Regions from separate parts of the Homo sapiens genome. Here region 1 is linked to region 2. Evidence: promoter capture Hi-C in human tissues and cell types (Jung and others, 2019). All regions are on one chromosome and are shown on one strand. Each heading gives the region's core, a stretch centred on a gene start or on the middle of the fragment in contact. The rest is flanking DNA. Distances are from core to core; before and after follow the strand shown.

Region 1 (5,611 bases), core at 1,845-4,344, 390 kb after region 2:
TGTATTTTTAGTAGTGACGGGGTTTCTCCATGTTGGTCAGGCTGGTCTCAAACTCCAGACCTCAGGTGATCTGCCCGCCTCAGCCTCCCAAATTGCTGGGATTACAGGCATGAGCCACTGCGCCTGGCCAGGAGTTTATTTTTTATAGCATTAGGTACATCTTAATGAAAACATACTCCTAAAATAGATCAGTATACCAAAAAGACACATGTGCTTGTATGTACATTGCCACATTTCATACATAGTAAAGGCATGGGATCAACCTAGGGGCCCATCAATGGTGGGTTGGATAAAAAAAATATATATGGTAGAGATACATGATGGAATACTATGCAGCCATAAAAAAGAATGAGATCATGTCCTTTGCAGCAGCATAGATGGAGCTGGTGGCCATAATCTAAGCAAATTAATGCAAGAACAGAAAACCAAATACTGCATGTTCTCACTTACAAGTGGGAGCTAAACATTGAGCTCCCACAGACATAAACATGGGAGCAATAGACACTGCAGGCTACTAAAGGGGGAGGGGAGGCGGTGGGGCATGGATTGAAAAACTACCCATTGGGTACTATGCTCCTATCTGGGTTCCATATACCCACGTAACAAACCTGTACATGTACCCCCTCGTATCTAAAATAAAAGCTGAAATAAAAAAAATACTCCTACATGAATACCTGCCTAGAGTGATTTTCATTTTACCAGAAGAATTATAGATAAAGTTTCTTCCTTTTTAAACTAAACTACTCCCTTGAAAATCTAGTGGTGTTGGATGTCAAACAATCATCTGCTGACCCAAAGGGGCTCCTGCCAGCTGCATGGGCACCATGAAGGACTCATGTGAGAAGGCCCGCCTTGATCCAGCATGGCGTATGTGACTGAGGGGGTAATTCCATCTATGTCTGGTTTTGTCTTAACCATCCCACTTTGCAAAAACACTTGATGCCACACTCTGCAACTTGGCCTCTAATCGATTATAATAAAGGTGACATTTAACCTCTCTCTGCCACTCTTTTGCATTATTTTTCCATTTGTTCAGAACTCAGGTTGGGAAGATGGTTGTTACTTATTGGGCCCCCACAGAGACCTCAAAAAGTTATCATAATTTTTGGATAAATCAGTAGTCAAGGATTGTATTATAATTGTGTAAATAATTGTCACTGTTGAACCAAGTAGTATATTGTGATTATGTCTTGTTTCTAGTTTGATTTTTTTCTTGAAGTTAATGAATGCCATGTTTTTTGTTCTTAATTTATTTTTAGTTTTGTATGGACCTATACTATTTTTCCAACTACTATAATTGCTCTGTCTAAAATTTTTCAAGCAGTACACTAAGAGCACTAAGCCTAAAGGAAAAGCCAGGCAGGGTGTGGTGGCTCACACCTGTAATCACAGAACATTGGGAGGCTTAGGTGGGAGGATTGTTTGAGCCCAGCCTGGGCAACATAGTGAGTAGTGAGATCCCCATCTCTACAAAAAAATTCTAAAATTAGCTGGATGTGGTGGTGCATGACTATAGTCCCAGCTACTTGGAAGGCTGAAGCAGGAGGATAGCTTGAGCCAAGATGTTCAAGGCTGCAGGGAGCTATGATTATGTCACTGTATTATGTCACTGTACTCCAGCCTGGGCAACAGAGAAAGGCCATGCCAAAAAAAAAAAAAAAAAAGAAGAAGAAGAAAAGAAAAGCCAACAAAACTAAAAAACATTAATTTTAAGAACTTAAGATCATCAAATGATAAGATTAAGAGAGTAAAAAGGAAAACCACATAATGAGAGAAGACATATGTAATATATATATCCCAAGAAGGATTTTTGTCCAGAATATATAAAGAACCCCTACAGATCAATAAGAAAAAGAGACAATACAATCAGAAGGTGGGCAAAAGATTTTGACGGGCACCTCAAAAAAGAGCATTTCAAATGGCCCTTAAACATATGAAAAGATACTCCACTTCATGAGTCATCTGAGGAATCTAAATTAACATCACAATAAGATATTGCACACCTACCAGACTGGTTAAAATAAAGAATTGTCAAGGATGTGGAACAACTGGAATTTGTACGCACTGCTATTAAAAACATAAATCTGGGCCGGGCTCGGTGGCTCATGCCTGGTAATCCCAGCACTTTAGGAGGCTGAGGTGGGCAGATCACAAGGTCATGAGTTCAAGACCAGCCTGGCCAATATGGTGAAACCCCGTCTCTACTAAAAATACAAAAATTAGCTGGGCGTGGTGGCAGATGCTTGTAGTCTCAGCTACTCAGGAGGCTGAGGCAGGAGAATCGCTTGAACCCAGGAGGCCGAGATCGTGCCACTGCACTCCAGCACTTTGGGAGGCTGAGGCGGGTGGATCAGTTGAGGTCAGGAGTTCAAGACCAGCCTGGCCAACATGGCGAAACCCTGTCTCTACTAAAAATACAAAAAAAAAAAAAAAAAAAAGGAAAAAGAAAAATTAGCTGAGTGTGGTAGCTCGCACCTGTAGTCCCACCTACTCAGGCGGTTGAGGCAGGAGAATCGCTTGAACCCAGGAGACAGAGGTTGCAGTGAGCCGAGATCGTGCCACTGCACTCTAGCCTGGGCGACAGAGCGTGACTCTGTCTCAAAAATAATAATAATAATAAAATAAAAATAAATAAATAAAAACACAAACCTGTACAACCACTTTGAATAACTGTTAGTACTACCTATGAATGCTGAACCTATATAACACATACTCTTTGAACTAGCAGTTCCACTCCTTGATATATACCCAGGCTTGATATATATCCAGCAGAAATGAGCGGATATATTCACAAAAAAACATGTATGAGAATGTTCATAGCAGCACTATTAGTAATAGTCAAAAACAGGAAAGAATGTTCATTAACAGTGGAATGGATAAGCAGCACCGTACTCATAAAACAAAATACCACACAGCAAAGAGAAAAAACAAATTACTTGTAGCATCATGGGTGAATCTCATAAAACGTAATGTTGAATGAAAGAAACCAGGCACAAAAGAGCACAAAATATACAATTCAACTTATATAAAGCCCCAAACAAGGCAAAACTTACTGATGGAGATAGAAGTTAGTTTAGCAGTTACCTTTGTTGGGGGAAGTGGGGGCATCAGGGGATGTTCTGGGTTGCTGGTCAGATTTTATTTCTCAATCTGGGTTCTGATTACACATATTATTCACTTTGTGACAATTCTTTGAGCTCGGCACTTATGATCTGTGTATTTTTCTATATGTATTCTAAATTCTATACTATTTTATGCTGTAATCAGAAAAATTTAAATCACCAGATCATGCAGACATATTGAAAAAATATTGAAAACTTCTAGGAAATAAGACCCGTGTAGATAAGCTCCAAGTCCACGAATTCATCTTTATCTGTAGGATTTGGTCTCTGGAATGATAAATATCAATTCTAATGTGTAGACTTCTCAGAGGTGGAAAGGCCCTTATGCAGCATCTTATCTAATCACCTGTTCATCCTCCTTTGAGGGTAAATATCTAAATGGAAATGCCCAGAATGCATATCAATTATTTTTTGTCTTCCTAGAATTCCTTCCTTGGAGGCTGCTGCTGGACATCCAATACGTGGTTTTGACAGGTTTGTCAGTCACAAAACCCTGCTGTCTACTCCCAACATAGAGGTTGATGTTTGATCTTTGTTTGGCCAATAACACTTTTTTCCCCCAGGAATTTAAGTTTCGAGCTGGTTGCTGAAACCAGCTGAAACACTGACACAGAAGGTGATGAAGCTACATTATCTGACAGCAGTGCCATAGAAAGACAGTTACAAGTCCCTGCTGCTACGATCCTTGAAGCTTCTTTGGGTCTGGCCTCTTGAGGCCAAATTATCCAACAAATCTTTTTATTCTCTGACCTGTCCTATATCCTTTCAATAGATTAATTTTTGCATCATAGCAAGGATCTATTCATATTGCGTTCCAGCAAATAATTAATCCAGCATCAGACCGTCAACCTGGAAAGTTTGGAAACCCAGTGCTATTCGTTCATCCAAGAATTATTAGGTTGCAAAGAAGAGACTCATATTGGTCAAACTCATAGAAATTTGATGTATAAACCACAATATTTATGGATTACTTTATTCTAGGAGATATTCTTAGTGTTAGAACAAAAGCAATCACTTTGCAGAGGCCATTCATTTCACATTTAACATTAACTAATATTAACCAAGAACTGCCTGTTAGGTATTATGGTGAGCAAAGAAAAGCCAAACTTGGTGTTTTCAAATTGATTTTTATAACTTTAAAAATCATGTCAGCTGGGCACGGTGGCTCACGCCTGTAATCCCAGCACTTTGGGAAGCCGTGGCGGGTGGATCACGAGTTCAGGAGATCAAGACCACCCTGGCTAACACGGGCACAAAATTTGCCAGTCTTGGGACGCACCTGTAGTCCCAGCTACTCAGGAGGCTGAGGCAGGAGAACCACTTGAACCCAGGAGGCAAAGGTTGCAGTGAGCCAAGATGGCGCCACTGCACTCCAGCCTGGGCGACAGACTGAGACTCTGTCACAAAAAAAAAAAAAAAAAAAAAAAGGCTTGGGCCAGTCAAGGTGGCTCACGCCTGTAATCCCAGCACTTTGGGAGGCCGAGGCAGGCAGGTCATCTGAGGTCAGGAGTTTGAGACCAGCCTGGCTAACATAGTGAAACCCTGTTTCTACTAAAAATACAAAAAATTAGCCGGGCGTGGTGGCACAGGCCTGTAATCCCAGCTACTCGGGAGGCTGAGGCAGGAGAATTGCTTGAACCCAGGAGGCGGAGGTTGCAGTGAGCCGAGATCAAGCCATTGCACTCCAGCCTGGGCAACAAGAGCGAGACTCCATCTCAAAAAAAAAAAAAAAATCATGTCTGGATATGTTATCCTTTCTAACTCTGCTCCTACAGTGCTACTTAACTCATTTTTCTAAATTACCATTCTGTTGGCTTCTGGTCTACAATCTTCACAGTGATGACCCCGTGCCATCTATATATTGTCCAAAATGCTTTCATTCTCTTAATGGCACCCTCCCTGTACCCAGACAAGGCTTTTAGAAAGCTCTTGTACTGCATTCTGGGGCCTTAGGGAGTTGCTGCAGGTGCTGCTTCCCACTTCTCTTTCGAAGCCTGCTCTGCCCCAGCCTCTAAGTCAGCCTGGTTACCTCATAACTAGTTCTGCCTCTCTGATTAGTTTATCTTGCTTCTAGCCACGCCCCAGTTCGCTGTCTCTTGATCTCCCTCCACCCTACACTTTGCAATCCCATGTGTCAATCTTTTGTTACTTCTTTTCCTGCCTCAGCTCCCAGATCCAGCCTGGAATAGCACAGAAGGAGTTACAACACGGACCGTGTCTTGAGAACCCTCCAAATGCCGGGTGCAGTGGCTCACACCTATAATCCCAGCACTTTGGGAGGCCAAGGTGGGAGTATCACCTGAGGTCAGGAGTTCGAGACCAGCCTGACCAATATGATGAAACCCCGTCTCTACTAAAAATACAAAAATTAGCTGGACATGGTGGCATGCGCCTGTAATCCCAGCTACCTGGAAGGCTGAGACAGGAGACTTGCTTGAACCCAGGAAGGGGAGGTTGCAGTGAGCCAAGATCGCACCATTACACTCCAG
Region 2 (5,658 bases), core at 1,146-3,645:
ATGGTCATCTGATCTTATGCATATGTTGCCTTCTCAGTTACACTGCACTGTCTAAAGGCAAGGACCAAGTCTTCTTAGATTCCCTTATGTGAGTTCTTGACTGGCCTCTGTGGGATTGAGGAGGAATAAATGAGTCAATTGGTCCCTTCTGTTGCACTGGGACCCCAGAGAGAAGCTCAGTATGATTCTAAGAAGCTGGGACTTCTGCTGGGCGTCCGGTGTTAACATGTACATAGGCCTCCTATCTAGTGTTATCCAGACCCTCTATCTGCTAACCATGATTCTCAGCCTCAACATTAAACCCTTCTAACATGGTTTGAGGACCTGACAATACAGGTGATACAGGAAGGCCTGGGAGTGCCCTGGGGGATTGCTGGGATTCAAGTTGGCTGATTTATGAAGGTGTTGAGCCACATTGTGTGGAGTGAGCATGGAGGCCTCCTCACCCACAAGATGTAACAGCTGGAAGGCGGTGAGCCAGGCCTCTGGGATGGCTGCAGCCTGGGTCAGGGTCAATCCCTCTGGGATAGGCATGAGGAGCCCTTCGGGGACAGTGACGTACTGAGCCTGGCCCCCACCGGGGAGCAGAGCCATGGCTGTGTCCCCGATCTTCCAGTGTCCCTGGCAGCCAGGCCCCAGCTCTGCCACATGTCCAGATGCCTCAAGTCCCAAAATGTTGCTGGCTCCTGGAGGTGGGTCATACTGGCCTTGTCTCTGCAGAGAAAGAAGTGCACTAAGTGGTGAGCATGATCAGAAATCTGTATGTCACTACCCCTGGCCCCCCTTCCAAGATCCCCTCTTTTTTTTTTCAAAAATAAATTTCAGAATGAAGTCAGGTTTTTGTAAGTAAGGAGAAGAAAAAGGAGAGGCCATTAGTTTTATGCAAATAAACTGGAGGTCACATGATCAGTGGATGTTATAACTGGTAGAGTCCTTAGCTATTTACCTCATCTGAACCCCTTGCTTTACAGATGGAGAAACTGAGTCCCAGACGGGAAATAATAGTAGTGGGATTAGGAACCTTGACGATGGTTCCCATGCATCAAGCGCTAGGCTCTGTGCTCACTCACCCCAGTCCTCAGAAGCTGTAGAGCAGAGGGACTTAACCAGGAGTGTGTGGCAGAACCACCTGAGGAGTATTTCAAAGTACACGTGCCTGGGCCCCCATCACGTTTCTTTTGTGCCCCGGGGGATTCTGATGCACATTTCTGAATGACCCCAACCAATGCAGCTGGCCCAGGTCAGTAAATCAGCATCAGACAGAAGAAAATTCTTAAGAGTACTGCCCGCTGTCAGCTCCGGGACTCTCAGAGTGGAAAGAGTTAAGAGGTCTTTGGAGCCACAAAGACCTCAGCTTGAATCCCAGCTCTTCTGATTGCTAGTGTCACGGCCTTGGGCGTACTGCTTAACCTCACTGAACTTCAGTTTCCTTATCTGTAGAATTAAGATGGCGAACAGGGTAGCCTGGGGAGTAAGTGTGCCCACACCCCACAACAATGTTAGTTCCGCCCTCATCTGGAGGCCTGAGTGGCTATGGATTAGCTCGGGGTGGATTCTGCTTTACAAGTACTCCCCCTTGTTTTGCATGAACAAAGAGGGCGCCCTGGGTTTAGGTCTGGGAAGCCCCAGCGCAGCTGCCTGCTGGGTGTGGAGCGGTGCACGCCTTCACGTCTGGTCAATGTCCACTGAGTGCTGTTGAGAGGGAGGCTCTGGAGTCCCGCCCGCCCCGGCGCGGCTGAGCCCTGGGTACCTGCATTAAGTCCGCCCGGTTCAGGGCGCTGGCCGCCACCTTCAGGAGGACTTCACCCTCCCCCGGGCTCGGCTTGGCCACCTCCTTCACGTAGAGGTTTTCCGGTCCTCCCGGCTTGTCAAAGTGCACGGCTAACATATTGTCTGAGGACACAGGGCAGGGCAGGGCAGGACAGGACAGGGCAGGGCAGGGCAGGACAGGACAGGGCAGGGCAGGACAGGACAGGGCAGGGGCCGCTGTATCCTCGCGGAGCAGCCCAGCCTCAGGCTGGCACCGCAGCGCCCCCTGCCGGCCAGCGCCTCGCTGCCCTGGTCTGCCGCGGACCCGGCCTCCGCCCCGAGCTCCTGCCTGGGAAGTCCTCGGCCGCCTCCAGACCGATCCCACCCGGAACACAGATGGGAACGGCGGGAAGTGGGATGGCGGTACAGGGCTGGATGCGGCAGAGCAGGACAACGCCGAAGAGGATCAGGCAAATCACACTCCCTCTGAGTTGGAAGCCCCCAGCCCGACCCGGGTCCCCGGCGCCCGTATGAGTTACTTACTCCTGGCCCGGCTCCCCTCCCATGCACCAGGCGGCGCCGAGTGGTTCTGGCTCCTGCGGGTCCCGGTGACAAAGCCCGAGCCCCAGAGCCCCAGGACTGCCTCTGCCTCCACCGGAATGGACGGCTGGACCTGGGGTAGCCGGAGGGGTGGGGCTAAGCAGAACCACCCTCCCCCTCTTTCCTTTCCTCCTTCCCCCTTTAAAACGCAAAGTTAGAAGCAAGCAAATCAGATTTTCTTGTCCTTTTAGCCTCTGGAAAAGAGTCTTTCTCTCAGCTTGACAGAAAGTGCGATTCTAGCTCTCACTTCAAGGAGAGGAAACTTCCTTCTCTCTAGGGAACGAGACCCAACCTCTTGGCGGGCGGATTGGTCCATTTTCCAGGCATGGCCAGGCTTTTGGCACATTTATGTAACAGGCTGGCATCCCGCCCATCTTGAGCATGGGTGGGCAAGCTGGGTGCTGCTAAGAGAAGAGAAAGGAGCCGTTGGGAGTGGGGGTGGGGAAGGAAGGCAAAACGCAGTCCTGGGATCCTTATCACTCGCCTCCTCCTGACAGTCCTGGGGGAGAGGTTCAGCCCCAGGAGAAGGATGCTGGCGATTGGGTAAAAGCTGTATCCGTAAGCTACATGAAGGTTTCTCAATCTCGGCGCTATTGACATTTTGGACTAGCTAGTTCGTTATTGTAGGAGATCGTCCTGTGCATCGTAGGATGTTTAGCAGCATCCCTGGCCTCCCCCCACTACATATCCGTAGCACTCCTTGTAAATTCCTGTTTTAGTAAGAACCTCCCATCCTTGACATCTGATCACCCTCAATATCTCATCCTCCACCATCCCCCAAGTGATATCCGACCACCCTGGCCTGTCTTCAGTGAGAATCCTGTTAGGTCAGTTTAGATAGAATCCCCCTTACCCCTGATGCCTCTTACCAATTTTCCATCCACTGACCCCCTACACTGCTCCTTGGCTATACATTCCCACTTGTCCGTGATGCATTCAGAGTTGATCCCAACCTGTCTCCTCCACTGCAAGAACTCATTGCAGTGGTCCCTAAACCTGTAGCGATGGTGCTAAATAAAGTCTTCCTTAATGTGCTTTAACAAGTATCATTGAATAATTATTTCTTTAACACAACAGAGCAAAAGCCTATAGAGATGGAAATAATAAAATGATGGGACTTAAGGAAAAATTCAGGAGACCCTGCTATGAGAATAACAGGAATTTTAGGCCGGGCGCGGTGGCTCACGCCTGTAATCCCAGAACTTTGGGAGGCCAAGGCGGGCGGATCACGAGGTCAGGAGATCGAGACCATCCTGGCTAACACGGTGAAACCCCGTCTCTACTAAAAATACAAAAAATTAGCCGGGCGTGGTGGCGGGCGCCTGTAGTCCCAGCTATTCGGGAGGCTGAGGCAGGAGAATGGCGTGAACCCGGGAGGGGGAGCTTGCAGTGAGCCGAGATCGCACCACTGCACTCCAGCCTGGACGACAGAGTGAGACTCCGTCTCAAAAAAAAAAAAAAAAAAGGAATTTTAGAAGGAGGAAGAGGAATGGATGAAGAAGATTCAATAGTTAACCAAATAAAAGAATACAGTTTTCCTAAATTCTACCAGATTATACGGATTGAAAACATTCACTAAAGGATGGATTCATAAGAACAAAAATGCATGCCTATATTTTATAAAATTTCAGGTTCTAACAAGTGTGGAAAGAATAAGTTACTCACAATTGGTTAAAAAAAATGGCTTCCTTCTCTCCCTCCCTCCCTCCTTCCTTCCTTCCCTCCTTCCCCACCCCCTCTTTCTCTCTCTCTCTTTTTTGTAGTGTAGGGGTCTCATTATGTTGCCCAGGCTGGTCTCAAACTCCTGGACTCAAGCAATCCTCCTGCCTCAGCCTCCCAAAGTGCTAGGATTACAAGTATGAGCCACTGTGCCCAGCAAGTTTCTATCTGCAATCTGGAAGCTAGAAGAGAGTAGACTAGCGTCTATTGACTAGAAGAAAAGCACTGTAACTCAATATACCCCATTAAGATATAATTCACTTGTTAGGGCAAAAAACATGTCTGAGGATGTATAAGGATTCAGAGACACATCATCCGGATACACATCTGTCCAAAATCGAGGAAAGGTTTGAACCAAATAAATATCCTAGAACAGAGACAGATGGAAAGGAAATAGTTGTAAATAACAAACTTTGCAAAAATCGACACTAAAACTGATTGGATTAAGAAAATGGAATGGATTAAGATAGATGAGGAATGTGTAATGTAAGTGCTAAATAAGAACTTTTAAGATGCAAGGAGTAACTTTAAAAAAAATCTAATAATACCAACCACTAAGTATACTAAAGTATCCCAGTAAAACTAGTAGTTGAAAGTGCCTAAGATTTTATCTTAGTGAGCCCTTGGTCGATGTAATCTTGCAGTGTGTAATAAGAAATATATATTTTTGGTCTTTGTCCTGGGTTCCTACAATAGCACTCCTAAAACCTTTGTTATTTGCTGAATAAACATCTCTTTCTTTCTTTTGTTTTTAACTAGATATACGGTCTTGCTACGTTGCCCAGGCTGATCATGAACTCCTGGACTCAAGCAATTCTCCCACCTCAGCCTGTAAAGTACTGGAATTATAGGCATGAGCCACTCTGCCTGGCCAATAAGTATCTTTTATTATATTTTGTTCTCCTGCAGAGCTCCTAAAACCCTTGGAATTTCGTATGTGATAGAAGTGACTTTTTATATTAATAACAAACCCTTATAAGCACACTCGAGTTTATGCTAATATGACTTAGGGTGGGGGCCCTAGATAGCTTCAGGATGAGCTGGTCACCAGAAAGACCCTGGGAAGGGGAAGCAGGGACTGGAGATTACACGCTATAAGAATTCTTTTTTGTTGTTGTTGTTGAAACTGAGTCTCACTCTGTTGCCCAGGCTGGAGTGCAGTGGCCTGACCTCAGTTCACTGCAACCTCCACCTCCTAGGTTCAAGCGATTCTCCTGCCTCAGCCTCCCGAGTAGCTGGGACTACAGGTGTGAGCCACCACACCAGGGTAATTTTTTTTTTTTTTTTTTTTTTGAGACAGAGTCTCACTCTGTCACCCAGGCGATCTCGGCTCCCTGCAATCCTCTCAAGTAGCTGGGACTATAGATGCACGCTGCCACGCCCAGCTAATTTTTTGTATTTTAGTAGAGACAGGGTTTCACCAGCCCAGGGTTTTGCAACAGTCCAGGCTGGTCGCAAACTCCTGAGCTTAGGCAATCCACCTGCCTCGGCCTTCCAAAGTGCTGGGATTACAGGCGTGAGCCACTGGGTCCGGCCCATTTTTGTGGTTTTAGTAGAAATGGGATTTCTCCATGTTGGCCAGGCTGGTCT

The links. The method cuts DNA at HindIII sites, captures the fragments that hold promoters and counts their contacts. A contact is called where the count stands out against the background at its distance.
Region 1: a fragment that was not itself captured here is called in contact with the fragment with the promoter of TP53I3 in region 2 in 1 of the 25 tissues and cell types used here (neural progenitor cells).

Annotation. Positions count from the first base shown.
Region 1 is chr2:24,472,253-24,477,863 of GRCh38, forward strand. No RefSeq gene overlaps it. Among named protein-coding and RNA genes, the nearest start is that of NCOA1, 16 kb to the right of the region's middle. The HindIII fragment of the contact is 7,742 bases long and covers 1-5,611 here.
Region 2 is chr2:24,082,439-24,088,096 of GRCh38, forward strand. TP53I3 (tumor protein p53 inducible protein 3) reads right to left here and starts at 2,396. Exons shown (of 5, transcript NM_004881.5): 1 at 1,751-2,396; 2 at 447-714. The coding sequence starts at 1,888. It also overlaps a transcript of FAM228B not described here. RefSeq lists enhancers at 108-1,038, 1,634-1,733, 1,884-1,933, 2,681-3,181 and a silencer at 1,944-2,123. The HindIII fragment of the contact is 16,390 bases long and covers 1-5,658 here.